3 separate regions of the Homo sapiens genome follow, and all the other regions are linked to region 2. Evidence: promoter capture Hi-C in 16 types of primary human blood cells and fetal thymus (Javierre and others, 2016). All regions are on one chromosome and are shown on one strand. The core of a region is centred on a gene start or on the middle of the fragment in contact, and the rest is flanking DNA. Distances in the headings are between cores, read along the strand shown.

Region 1 (3,480 bases), core at 970-3,469, 440 kb after region 2:
ACCGAGTGGGAGACAGCAGCACCAGCAGTGGCAGAGACCCCTTGACATCAAGCTCTCTGGGAAGTGGAGCACTGATGATATGCAGATCAATGGCATTTCCCTGCAGGATTACACTGCAGTGAAGGAGAAGTATGCCAAGTACCTGCCTCACAGTGCTGGGTGGTATGCAGCCAAATGCTTCCGCAAAGCTCAGTGCCCCATTGTGGAGCCCCTCACTAACTCCATGATGATGCACGGCTGCAACAACAGCAACAAGCTCATGATCATGTGCATCATCAAGCATGCCTTCGATTTCATCCACCTGCTCACAGGCGAGAACCCTCTCCAGGTCCTGGTGAACGCCATCATCAACAGTGGTCCCTGGGAGGACTCCACATGCATTGGGCGAGCAGGGACTGTGAGACAACAGGCTGTGGACATGTCCCCACTGCACTGTGTGAATCAGGTCGTCTGGCTGCTGTGCACAGGCACTCGTGAGGCTGCCTTCTGGAACATCAAGACCATTGCTGAGTGCCTGGCGGATGAGCTCATCAATGCCACCAAGGCCTCCTCCAGCTCCTATGCCATCAACAAGAAGGATGAGCTGGAGTGTGGGGACAAGTCCAACCGCTGATTTTCCTGGCTGCTGCCTAATAAACCAGTCTGCCCTTTGGGATGCCTCCCCCACCCCCCCAAAAAAAGTGATGAGATTTGGAAACTTCTAATTGTCCCCTAATATCTAGTTTTCCTTCCTTAGTACTGAAACCCCATTTTCCAGCCTTCTTTGCAATTTGGTGTAGTCAAGTGACTATTTTACTAGCAGAATGAAAACAAAAATGGTACATGCAACCCCCGCCCCTTTCAAAAGGTTCTTAAAGAGAGGAGAGTGTTCCCTTCTGTATCCTCTCTTCTGGTGGAATGCCAGCATTGTGACATATTTCAAAAGTAAATTATTCAGCACATATTTATTGAACACCTAGATCCTAGCCCATGTATAAGAGCTATAGGAGAACATTATCCAGGATGGCATTTTTGGTGATAATTCCATGATACAAAACCTTTTACTTCATTATGCCTCAAGTAAAATGCTTTTTAGATTTCCACTGATAATAACTCTACTTGGCTGGGCACAGTGGCCCACGCTTGTAATCCCAGCATTTTGGGAGGCAGAGGCGGGTGGATCACCTGAGGTCAGGAGTTCAGGATCAGCCAGGTGAAATCCCGTCTCTACTAAAAATACACAAATTAGCCAAGCATGGTGGTGCGCACCTGTAATCCCAGCTACTCGGAAGGCTGAGGTGGGAGGATTGATTGAGCGTGGGAGGTAAGAGGCTGCAGTGAGCCAAGATCACACCACTGCACTCCACCCTGGACAACAGAGCAAGACCCTGTCTCAAAACAAACAAACAAACCACCCAAAAAACAAAGCTCGACTTTCCCCCAAACAACTAAATGGTTATAGGCATTTCTGTAGGAAATTTAGACGGGGCTTCCAAACGCTGTTAAAGTTATGTTGAAAATCCAAGAGGCTGAAAGATATCTGACTATAAGAAAGACGAAAAAAAAAAAAAAAGACAAAAATCTACGTGAATAGACGGGAGAGCGCCGAGCGAAATCAGAAGACTAGTTGTATTGTGAGGATCACCTCGGGTAACCAGCACTCGCTGGGTAGCCCTGGTTTACTAACTTCAACTTTCTGGGGCTCCATTTCTGAATTGAGGGGATTAGAAAAAGGCATCTCTAAAGACCCTCCGTTCCCGAGAACCCTCCCGGAGCACCTTCCCTACTCTGGGCAGCTCGCAGACAGACAAGACTGATCGGCCATAGGCGAAGGGAAACCCTGGTCCCCCGGGTCTCGAGCTCCGTCCGCACGTAATCTCACGGTACTGCACTTCAAGTCAGCGTGCAGAAACGCAGCAGTGGGAGCCCGGCGGCGGCCGCCCACCGGCAGGGGACAGGAGAGGCCCGTCCCGCTCTGCCCGGAACCGTAGATAGCTGGGTCTGAACTCCGGCTCCGGGAGGCCTGCAGAGCAGCCCACCCCGTCCCTCGGAGCTCGCCCTGCCCCCGGCCGGCCACTTGCTGCACGCCGATTGGTCGCGAGGAGCGCCCGGCGTCCCGCTGCGCCCAGCCAACGCCCTCTCCCCGCCCCCTCGCGTCCCGCCCCGCCCCCGGCCGGCCACTTGCTGCGCTCCGATTGGTCGCTGCGGTGCACACGGCGCCTCGCCCCGCCTCACCGGCGCTCTATCCTCGCGTCTGCTCCCAGCTCCGGGCTCCCGGGGCTGAGGTGGAGCCGCGGGACGCCGGCAGGGTTGTGGCGCAGCAGTCTCCTTCCTGCGCGCGCGCCTGAAGTCGGCGTGGGCGTTTGAGGAAGCTGGGTGAGTCCTGTCTGTGGGTCTCCGGCGCCAGGCAACCGTAGAGGGCTCGCGCCCGCCGCCCGCGCGTAAGGAGGCTCCCTCGTCGGGCCCTGTCCGGCCCGGCCTTCTGGGGGCTGTGGGGCCGTCCAGCCGGGTTTTCCCTGCGTTCGGCGCCGGCCTGCAGACTCGGGCCCGCGGAGCCCCCGCCGCCCCTTCTTGCCCCTGCCCGCGTCCCTTCGGGCCGACCGTGACCGTGGCGCCGCCGCGACCCGCAAGCAGCCCGGGGAGGCTGCCCTGCCGCGCTGTCACGCCGTCAGGTTGCGTTCCTGGGGAGGGCTGGAGAGGCTCCATCTCGTGCCTTTCACCTTCTCGCGCGGCGGGCACGGAGGCGACGGTTTTCGGGACGCCCTGCTGCGGCCGCGACGCCCTCCCGAGGCCGGAGCGAGGGCCCCGGGGCGGCTCCAGCCCTTCTTCGCCCCTCCCGTTTGCCCCGAACCATTGCTAGGAGCCTGTGTTTTCTGCACTTTTCTGATTTCATTCTTACGAGAGTCAAGTACAGAGGCGGGAGGGGAAAGGGAAGGGGAACAACATTCTTTCGAGAATTATAAACCTTGAGCTCCGTTAAATAAGTAGCAGCAGAGCATTGTCACTGGAGCAGTGGTAGTCGCGGGTAGGACCGTTTCGGTTTTTAGCCAATAGGCTGGTTAAAGGTACTTAAAACAGTAAGTTGGAAGGTGCTGAAATTCTAAGGTAAATACGTGACCTTTCAAAACCAAAGCAGTGAGACGGGCTAGGCTGGGCTGCTCCCCGCTGCGCGTGCCTGGGTCGGGGGGTGCGGAGGGGCAGGGGGCGGAGGCCTCGGACGGGACGGGGTGGGAGGGAAGTGGCATCCGCATCGTCTTACATCGCGCTGTAAGACCCGATTTTCTCTTTTCGGAGGATCCCATCTCCCTTCTCAGACTCTTCATCCTACCTGCACTGTGGATCCCTTGACACTTCAGAGGCTCTGAACTCTCAGGCCGGTCACACTTTTTCATCATTTTGTTTCTTGTCTTTTAAACCTGCATGCATTTCAAACGTAGAGCAAACATTAAACTTTTTTTTTAAACTGAAGATAGTGGTGCAAGACTTTGTTATTGAAATGCA
Region 2 (3,058 bases), core at 559-3,058:
GGCCACAGCCTAAACAAATATTGAGAAACAAGACACCAAAATATTTACAACAATTGCCTCCGAGTGGAAGAAAAGAGGACAATTACTTTCTTTATCTTTCTCTACGTTTTAAAAAGTTTTTAGGGGGTTGGGTGTGGTGGCTCACACCTCTAAGCTTTGGGAGGCTGAGGCAGGCGGATCGCTTGAGGTCAGGAGTTCAAGACCAGCCTGGCCAACATGGCAAAACCCCATCTCTACTAAAAAGAGAAAAATTAGCCGGGTGTGGTTGTGTACACCTGCAGTCCCAGCTACTCGGGAGGCTGAGGCAGGAGAACCGCTTGAACTCAGGAGGCAGAGGTTGTAGTGAGCTGAGATCACGCCACTGCACTCCAGCCTGGGTGACAAAGCGAGACTCTGTCTCAAAAAATAAAAATTGTAATAATGAGAAAACTGCTCTCTAAAAGGGCAAAATAGTGAATTAACGTGTTTCTATAATAAATCTGAGCAGAGAATTTTTCTTTTAAGTTGATTACAGAACCCCCACTATTACAACCAGGAATACTGACCCTTGCTCTGCCAGCCAGTCTCTTCTCTGACAGAGGAGAAAATTCGACCAAGTTCTATTTAGAGAGAATGGGTTGAAGATAGGTTGTTTTTATGGATGCAGACAAACTATATCCAAGGCTAGTACCCAGTTCTCAGTTTCAATATCAAATTTGCTCAAACCCGGGTTCTCCTATTTTAGGCCTGATGCTCAGATAGCCACTCTGCCCTAGCCAGAATCAAGAATCTAGGTACCAGAATCCCATATGCCCTCACAAACCAACAGCTCAGTTCTATACTCAGGTGAGATGGGGGAGAGGGGAGGGGAATGGAGGGCCACAGGGATTCTTTGCTTTTGCTTGGCCAAACTTTAGTGAGACTTCTGAACCTTCTCGTAGTCCTATCTATGCACCTCCTTGTAAAGTCCAGTTTTAGCAAAACTGCTAAGTCAGTTTAGCCAGAACCCCCAATCTTCGACAACCGATCATCTTTGATATCTGATCAGGGTCTTCATCCTTCACCATCCCCCAGGTGATGTCTGATCACCCTGGCCTGTCTTCTACAAGATTCCTCTAGGTCATTTTAGCCAGAATCCCTCTTACCCCAGTTTCCTCTAAGTAATTTTCTATCCACTGACCCCCGCACTGCTCCTTGGCCATAAATTCCCATTTGCCCATTCTGCTTTCGGAGTTGAGCCCAATCTCTCTGCCCACTCCCAGACCCTGTTGCACTGGTCCTATACCCATCGCTATGGTCCTGAATAAAGTCTTCCTTATCATGCTTTAATAAGCATCACTGAATAATTCTTTATTTAACAATGGGTAGTCATGGCCCAGGTAAGAGAGACGTGGTGTCCGCTCCTGGAGCTGCAAGGCTCCTGGGGGCTTTTTGTTTTGTTTTGGTTTTGTCTTTGTATGCAACGTGAGAAAAAGCCATTGATGCAGGCTTTAGCATGCTGGGAAGGAAGTGTAAAGAAGCCAGTGACGCTGGTAATAACTGTGAAATGGAACAAATGCCACCATATTTATCTAAATGTAAATTTTAAAACTGGGGACAGCAAATCCATTCTACAGTGAGCGCCGCTTGGCCAGTAACAATGACTTCATTTTCAGATGCAGTCGAAGCCCTGTGGCTCCACCCCGAGGGTCCAGCCCTTACCACTGCTAAGAACTACAACTCCCAGCCCGAGGGAGGTCTCTGCGCCTGCGGCCTGACGCCCTACGCCTACACTTCCCAGAGAACCTAGCGGTTACGCCAACGCGCGCGTGCGCCCTTGCGCGTTTCTCTCTTCCCACTCGGGTTTGACCTACAGCCGCCCGGGAGAAGATGGCTGCCCCAGCAGTGTCCGGGCTCTCCCGGCAGGTGAGAGAAAGGTGGTCCTGAGAGCCAGTGGGAGGATCCCTCCTGGGATGACCGGTACCAAACCTCGAGCACCAGGGTGCGATGCTTCGGCTGGGGAAGTCTGGCAGTCTTCAAGGTTATGGGACCTGGCGAGTGGGAGCGACTCAGGACGACCCAGCGTTTGTCCCCCGGGATGCCTACGGGGCAGTAGGCGCGGGGCTGCGCGTGCCGTAACCTTGGCGTCTTCCGAGCACAGCCCCTGGAAGCTGCTAGCCTGAGGGGCGCAGGAGAGGGGGTCTGCCCTTCGCTGAATTCCGGGGAAGGGGCATGGACTAGCCCCCAAATCAGCTTCCTTTGCCATTGTGGTAAAACCTGTCAGAGATCACTTACTAGTAATGCTAAGGAATATTTGTAAAACACATTTCACAGTTTTATAAATAAAATGAGGCCGAAAAGTTTAAATGAGTCTTTGGCTGCTCAGTCAGTAAGTGGTAGAATTGAGATTTGAACCCACGGAATCACCCAGAAGATCGAGTTTGAAAAAATGTTATGCTGTTTGTGCTGCATCTCACCATGGTGCTTTACATATCATGACCCCTTCCTGGCATCTTAGGTAATTTTTTCATAAGCATTAAAAAGTCTTAATCCTCACAAGCAGTTTTGATAAAACACGTTCCATAGCTGGAGTATTTGAAGGTGACCTGTGATCTGTGACCTGTGCGCTTGCAGGTGATTTTTAAACTGTGTATTCCAGCTCTGTCTTTTGATGGGCAGGATAGTGTCTCTCAGAACTAAGGCTTCTTGTCAGATCAAACTCTGCGGCAGTACTCAAAAAATTCATCTTTATTTTCAGATAGCATTTGCATTCCGAGGAGGGTACGTCTGTTGCAAATGATCTGCTCAAGGGTCTGTTAATAGAAACGCCAAAATTTTGGTTAAATATTTTTGAAACATGCACTCCTTGGAAGTTAGTGTTTTTCTGTCTTACGGGTATGCTAGCCTCGGTCCATTCCTAGCAAACTAGGAGGTTCGTGGGAAGGTGATTTCCCAAGCAACTTGGCATAATCCTCATTGGGTAAGTTTACCCCTTAGTAATAGTAAGTAGCTCACCCTCATGTAATATGTGAATATACAAAGAGACAAAAGTAATGATTTTAAGGTTATTTAAAATTTTTTGTTGTTATTGAGTTAAATG
Region 3 (3,412 bases), core at 467-2,966, 490 kb before region 2:
TAAAACAAGATACATTTGGAGAAGTCTAGAGTGTTTGCTTTATTCATGTTGTTTATGCGTTAAAATATAAGCATATTGCATACATAAGCATATTTACACCCACATCTAAAAGATAACATATTATATATACTTTTCCATACTTCTGAACAAGCGTCTCATATCCATAACTAAAAATTAGATGAGAAAGGCAAAGAACTCTTGTCTTCGAATTGACTTCATTGCACTATATAGCATTTCACACTGCGGTTCCAGGCCACAGGGTCCCTTGGGTAGGGGGAGACAAAGGGTGTGGCTGACAGGGAGACTCTAGGACTACCATTGCCACTTCCACCAGAGCAGCCACACTTCTGTTCCACATAGTTGGCATCCAAATTTGATTTGAAAAACAGTTTCCACTACTAAAAGAAAAATCCTATGAGAAAATGACCACAAGCCAATTATCCACTCAAACCTGCTGATCCTGGCCTCTGGGAGAGGCTGTTTGGAGACCACATATTTCATATTAACTTTACCATGATGAGATTATCTTACTGTCTGGGGTCATCCAAACTTGAGCTCCAAGAAAACCCCTGTGTGAGGGAAAAAAAAAAAAAATCCTCCTCCATTCAACAGTAGAGCAAAGGACCTGACCAATCATTTTGTCCACGTCTTCATTTGAAGGAATCCTTCATGCCCATTTTATGAAATGTCTTTAGCTCTGATTAAAGAGGCAAGAAAATACAAAGGAAGAGATGGTTAGAGTTTGAAGCAAACTGTCATTTTGCCTGAGTATATAAAATTAAAAGTGCTTTCAAGATGAGGTATTGAATTAGTTCAATAACTGCAAGCTCCGGGTGGGCGCAGTGGCTCACATCTGTAATCCCAGCACTTTGGGAGGCCGAGGCGGGCGGATCACAAGGTCAGGAGATCGAGACCATCCTGACTAACACGGTGAAACCCCATCTCTACTAAAAATACAAATAATTAGCCGGCCATGGTGGAAGGTGCCTGTAGTCCCAGCTACTCGGGAGGCTGAGGCAGGAGAATCACTTGAACCCGGGAGGCGGAAGTTGCAGTGAGCCGAGATCGTGCCACTGCACTCCAGCCTGGGCAACAGAGAGAGACTCCCTCTCAGAAAAAAAAAAAAAAAAAAAAAAAAAAAAAGACCTGCAAGCGCCAGTGGAAGCTAGGTGTGCAGACTGACTTTCTTTTGCAATTTGCCATACCTTCCTTCTGCCACCTGGAAAAAATCACTCTTAGTTGTGCAAATGGGAAGGCAACTGGCACAAATTCTATGCATACACAGACACACAACACGTAAGTCCAGGACTCCCTGGGTGTGTCATGACTATACCCCTGGTGCCTGGCACAATGCCTGGTGTACAGCAGGTGATCAGTACATATTTTTGAAATGGATGAATGAATGTAAACATTTCTCCCCATCTTAAGCCAAATGGGTAGGCTCATTACTATTAAAAGATTGCCAACCTCTGTCTCAGACCTATTGCAGAAGTGATGTCAAAGTAGCATTTTTATGGGTAGCATCTGCAATTCCCATATTTTATGGGTCAGCAGGGAGTTGTTCTGAGTATTTATTCCATGATGCTTGAAATCTGAAGTGTATGTGTGGGACTGGCACCACTGTAAGAAAGCCCTTTATGAGGTCATCATCCCCCACTTGCCATCTCTCCCCAGATGCAGATGTGCAAGCTTTTAAAAACACTTGAGAAGCCACCATGCCTCGCTTTGCAAGCCCTCTTTTAAGAAATGTCATTATCAGAAGTCAATTTGATGGCATCAAGAGGAAGCAATGCCTCCAATATCTGAAAACCCTGAGAACACTGCAATATGATGGATTTAAGACCGTATATTTTGGGGAAACCAATATCCCAGAAAGTCTCGTAACTGGGGAAGATATTAGTGATGGATATTTCATACAAACCCCAACTTGGTGTATTGTGCATGCTGCGGGTAGTCAAGGATGGGTGCCTTGGAAATATCGGGTGTTCCTAAGAGACGAGCTGTGTATCAAACAAGAAGACAGCCTCTTCTCTGAGTTCTGTGATGTGGTGAGGAAGGCCTATGGAAAGTGTGTCATCGTGGTCAAAGAGAGAAGGCAGCAGGAAGAGCAGAGGCCAAAGGAAGACAGAGAGGCTGAGGGCCAGTTCTATATCCCTACAGTCATTAGCTTAGCAAGCATTATGTGTTGCCCAGAGGTGGCCAAGTCCTGTGGCCATGAACTACTCTCTCTGCCTTCCCCTTGTAATTATCTGAACCCTTTAGACTCAGCCTGGTCTTCTCTGAAATGGTTTATCATCAATAACAGAAACGAGTTTTGTTTGCAGTCCATTGACAGTGGCTATTCTTACCAATGTATACTTTTCAGCAATTTAATTAGCAAAGGAATTGAAAGGATAAACGCAAGCAAGTGGAGAACATTAACTAGCAAAGTACGGAGATGGGAAAACTACTATCTTGGGAAATTTTCTTAAGGGTGGTTCCTCCAACAAGCAGTGAGGCTGCTACATGTCTGGTCTTTACCGTCAACTCTGTTGAGATGAATTCCACACCACTGCAGCCAAAGATACTTCAACAGCGACCTCACATGGGGTGCTGCGAGAACTGGGTTGCTCCTAAGGATGTTGGCAAAGCGCTTTGAGTTTACTAGAAGTTTCATTAAAATTTGTTGGTAAGTTAGGGGTCTCGACTCTTATCTTGTGAAGGCTACTTTGAGGGCTTTGTCAAGGGGAGGATTAGGTCTAACCCAGCCCAAAGGTGGATGGCAATAAGCAGGGGTGAGCAGGCTGAAAGTTGAGTGGTCGAAATTTAGGTCTGAGAAAAAAAGAGAACCAGTGTGCAGTCATCCCCCAAAAAGCCCAAATTAAATAGTGTGCCAAGTTTCCACCCACCAAAGTAATCCACAGGGATCCAGCTTGCCATGGGCGAGATATTGTCCAGATGGTCGCCAAGCAAGACTCCCTCCTCCCGATTGTCCTTCCTTCCTTGTCGGCAAAGTGGTGGAGGATGAGTGAGAGGCAGCCGCAGAGGGGAAACTCCATCCGGACCCTCCAAGGGGAGTAGGTGGTCCCAGTTAGGACCTGGAAAGTTATGACAGTGGTGGGTTCAAGTGGGCTATGGTGGGCAAAGGGGTGGCACGCATGGGGGTCTGCAGAGACCACTTATCCAGCCAATCTCCCCGCCAACTCCAGGAATTCCAGCAGGTCATTAGACTGTGCCGTGGAGTTTCATCTCGAGACCCTGTAGCTGAGCCACTTGCAGCTGGGACAACACCTCCCTATTTAGGTTTGGGGCTGCTGCCGATGTCTGTTGTAAGAATCTGTGGTTGTCTTTTTCATTTTTATAGAAAAAGACTACCCCTATTAAACATATCATAAAATTCACTGTTGGTTATGTACATTCAGACAGTCATTTC

The links. The method cuts DNA at HindIII sites, captures the fragments that hold promoters and counts their contacts. A CHiCAGO score of 5 or more calls a contact.
Region 1: a contact is called between the fragment with the promoter of TMEM50B here and the fragment with the promoter of ATP5PO in region 2, in 1 of 17 cell types (fetal thymus). The highest score is 6.6, in fetal thymus.
Region 3: the fragment with the promoter of C21orf140 here is called in contact with the fragment with the promoter of ATP5PO in region 2 in 8 of 17 cell types (naive B cells, total B cells, naive CD8 T cells and 5 more); the score reaches 11.7 in naive B cells.

Annotation. Positions count from the first base shown.
Region 1 is chr21:33,478,713-33,482,192 of GRCh38, reverse strand. It overlaps TMEM50B (transmembrane protein 50B), which reads left to right and starts at 2,219. Exons shown (of 7, transcript NM_006134.7): 1 at 2,219-2,355. It also overlaps the pseudogene RPS5P3. The HindIII fragment of the contact is 5,416 bases long and covers 1-3,480 here.
Region 2 is chr21:33,914,554-33,917,611 of GRCh38, reverse strand. It overlaps ATP5PO (ATP synthase peripheral stalk subunit OSCP), which reads left to right and starts at 1,808. Exons shown (of 7, transcript NM_001697.3): 1 at 1,808-1,884. The coding sequence starts at 1,849. RefSeq lists enhancers at 1,627-2,236, 2,751-3,058. The HindIII fragment of the contact is 2,999 bases long and covers 157-3,058 here.
Region 3 is chr21:34,399,376-34,402,787 of GRCh38, reverse strand. C21orf140 (chromosome 21 open reading frame 140) reads left to right here and starts at 1,716. Exons shown (of 1, transcript NM_001282537.2): 1 at 1,716-2,676. The coding sequence starts at 1,716. The coding sequence ends at 2,471. The HindIII fragment of the contact is 9,278 bases long and covers 1,692-3,412 here.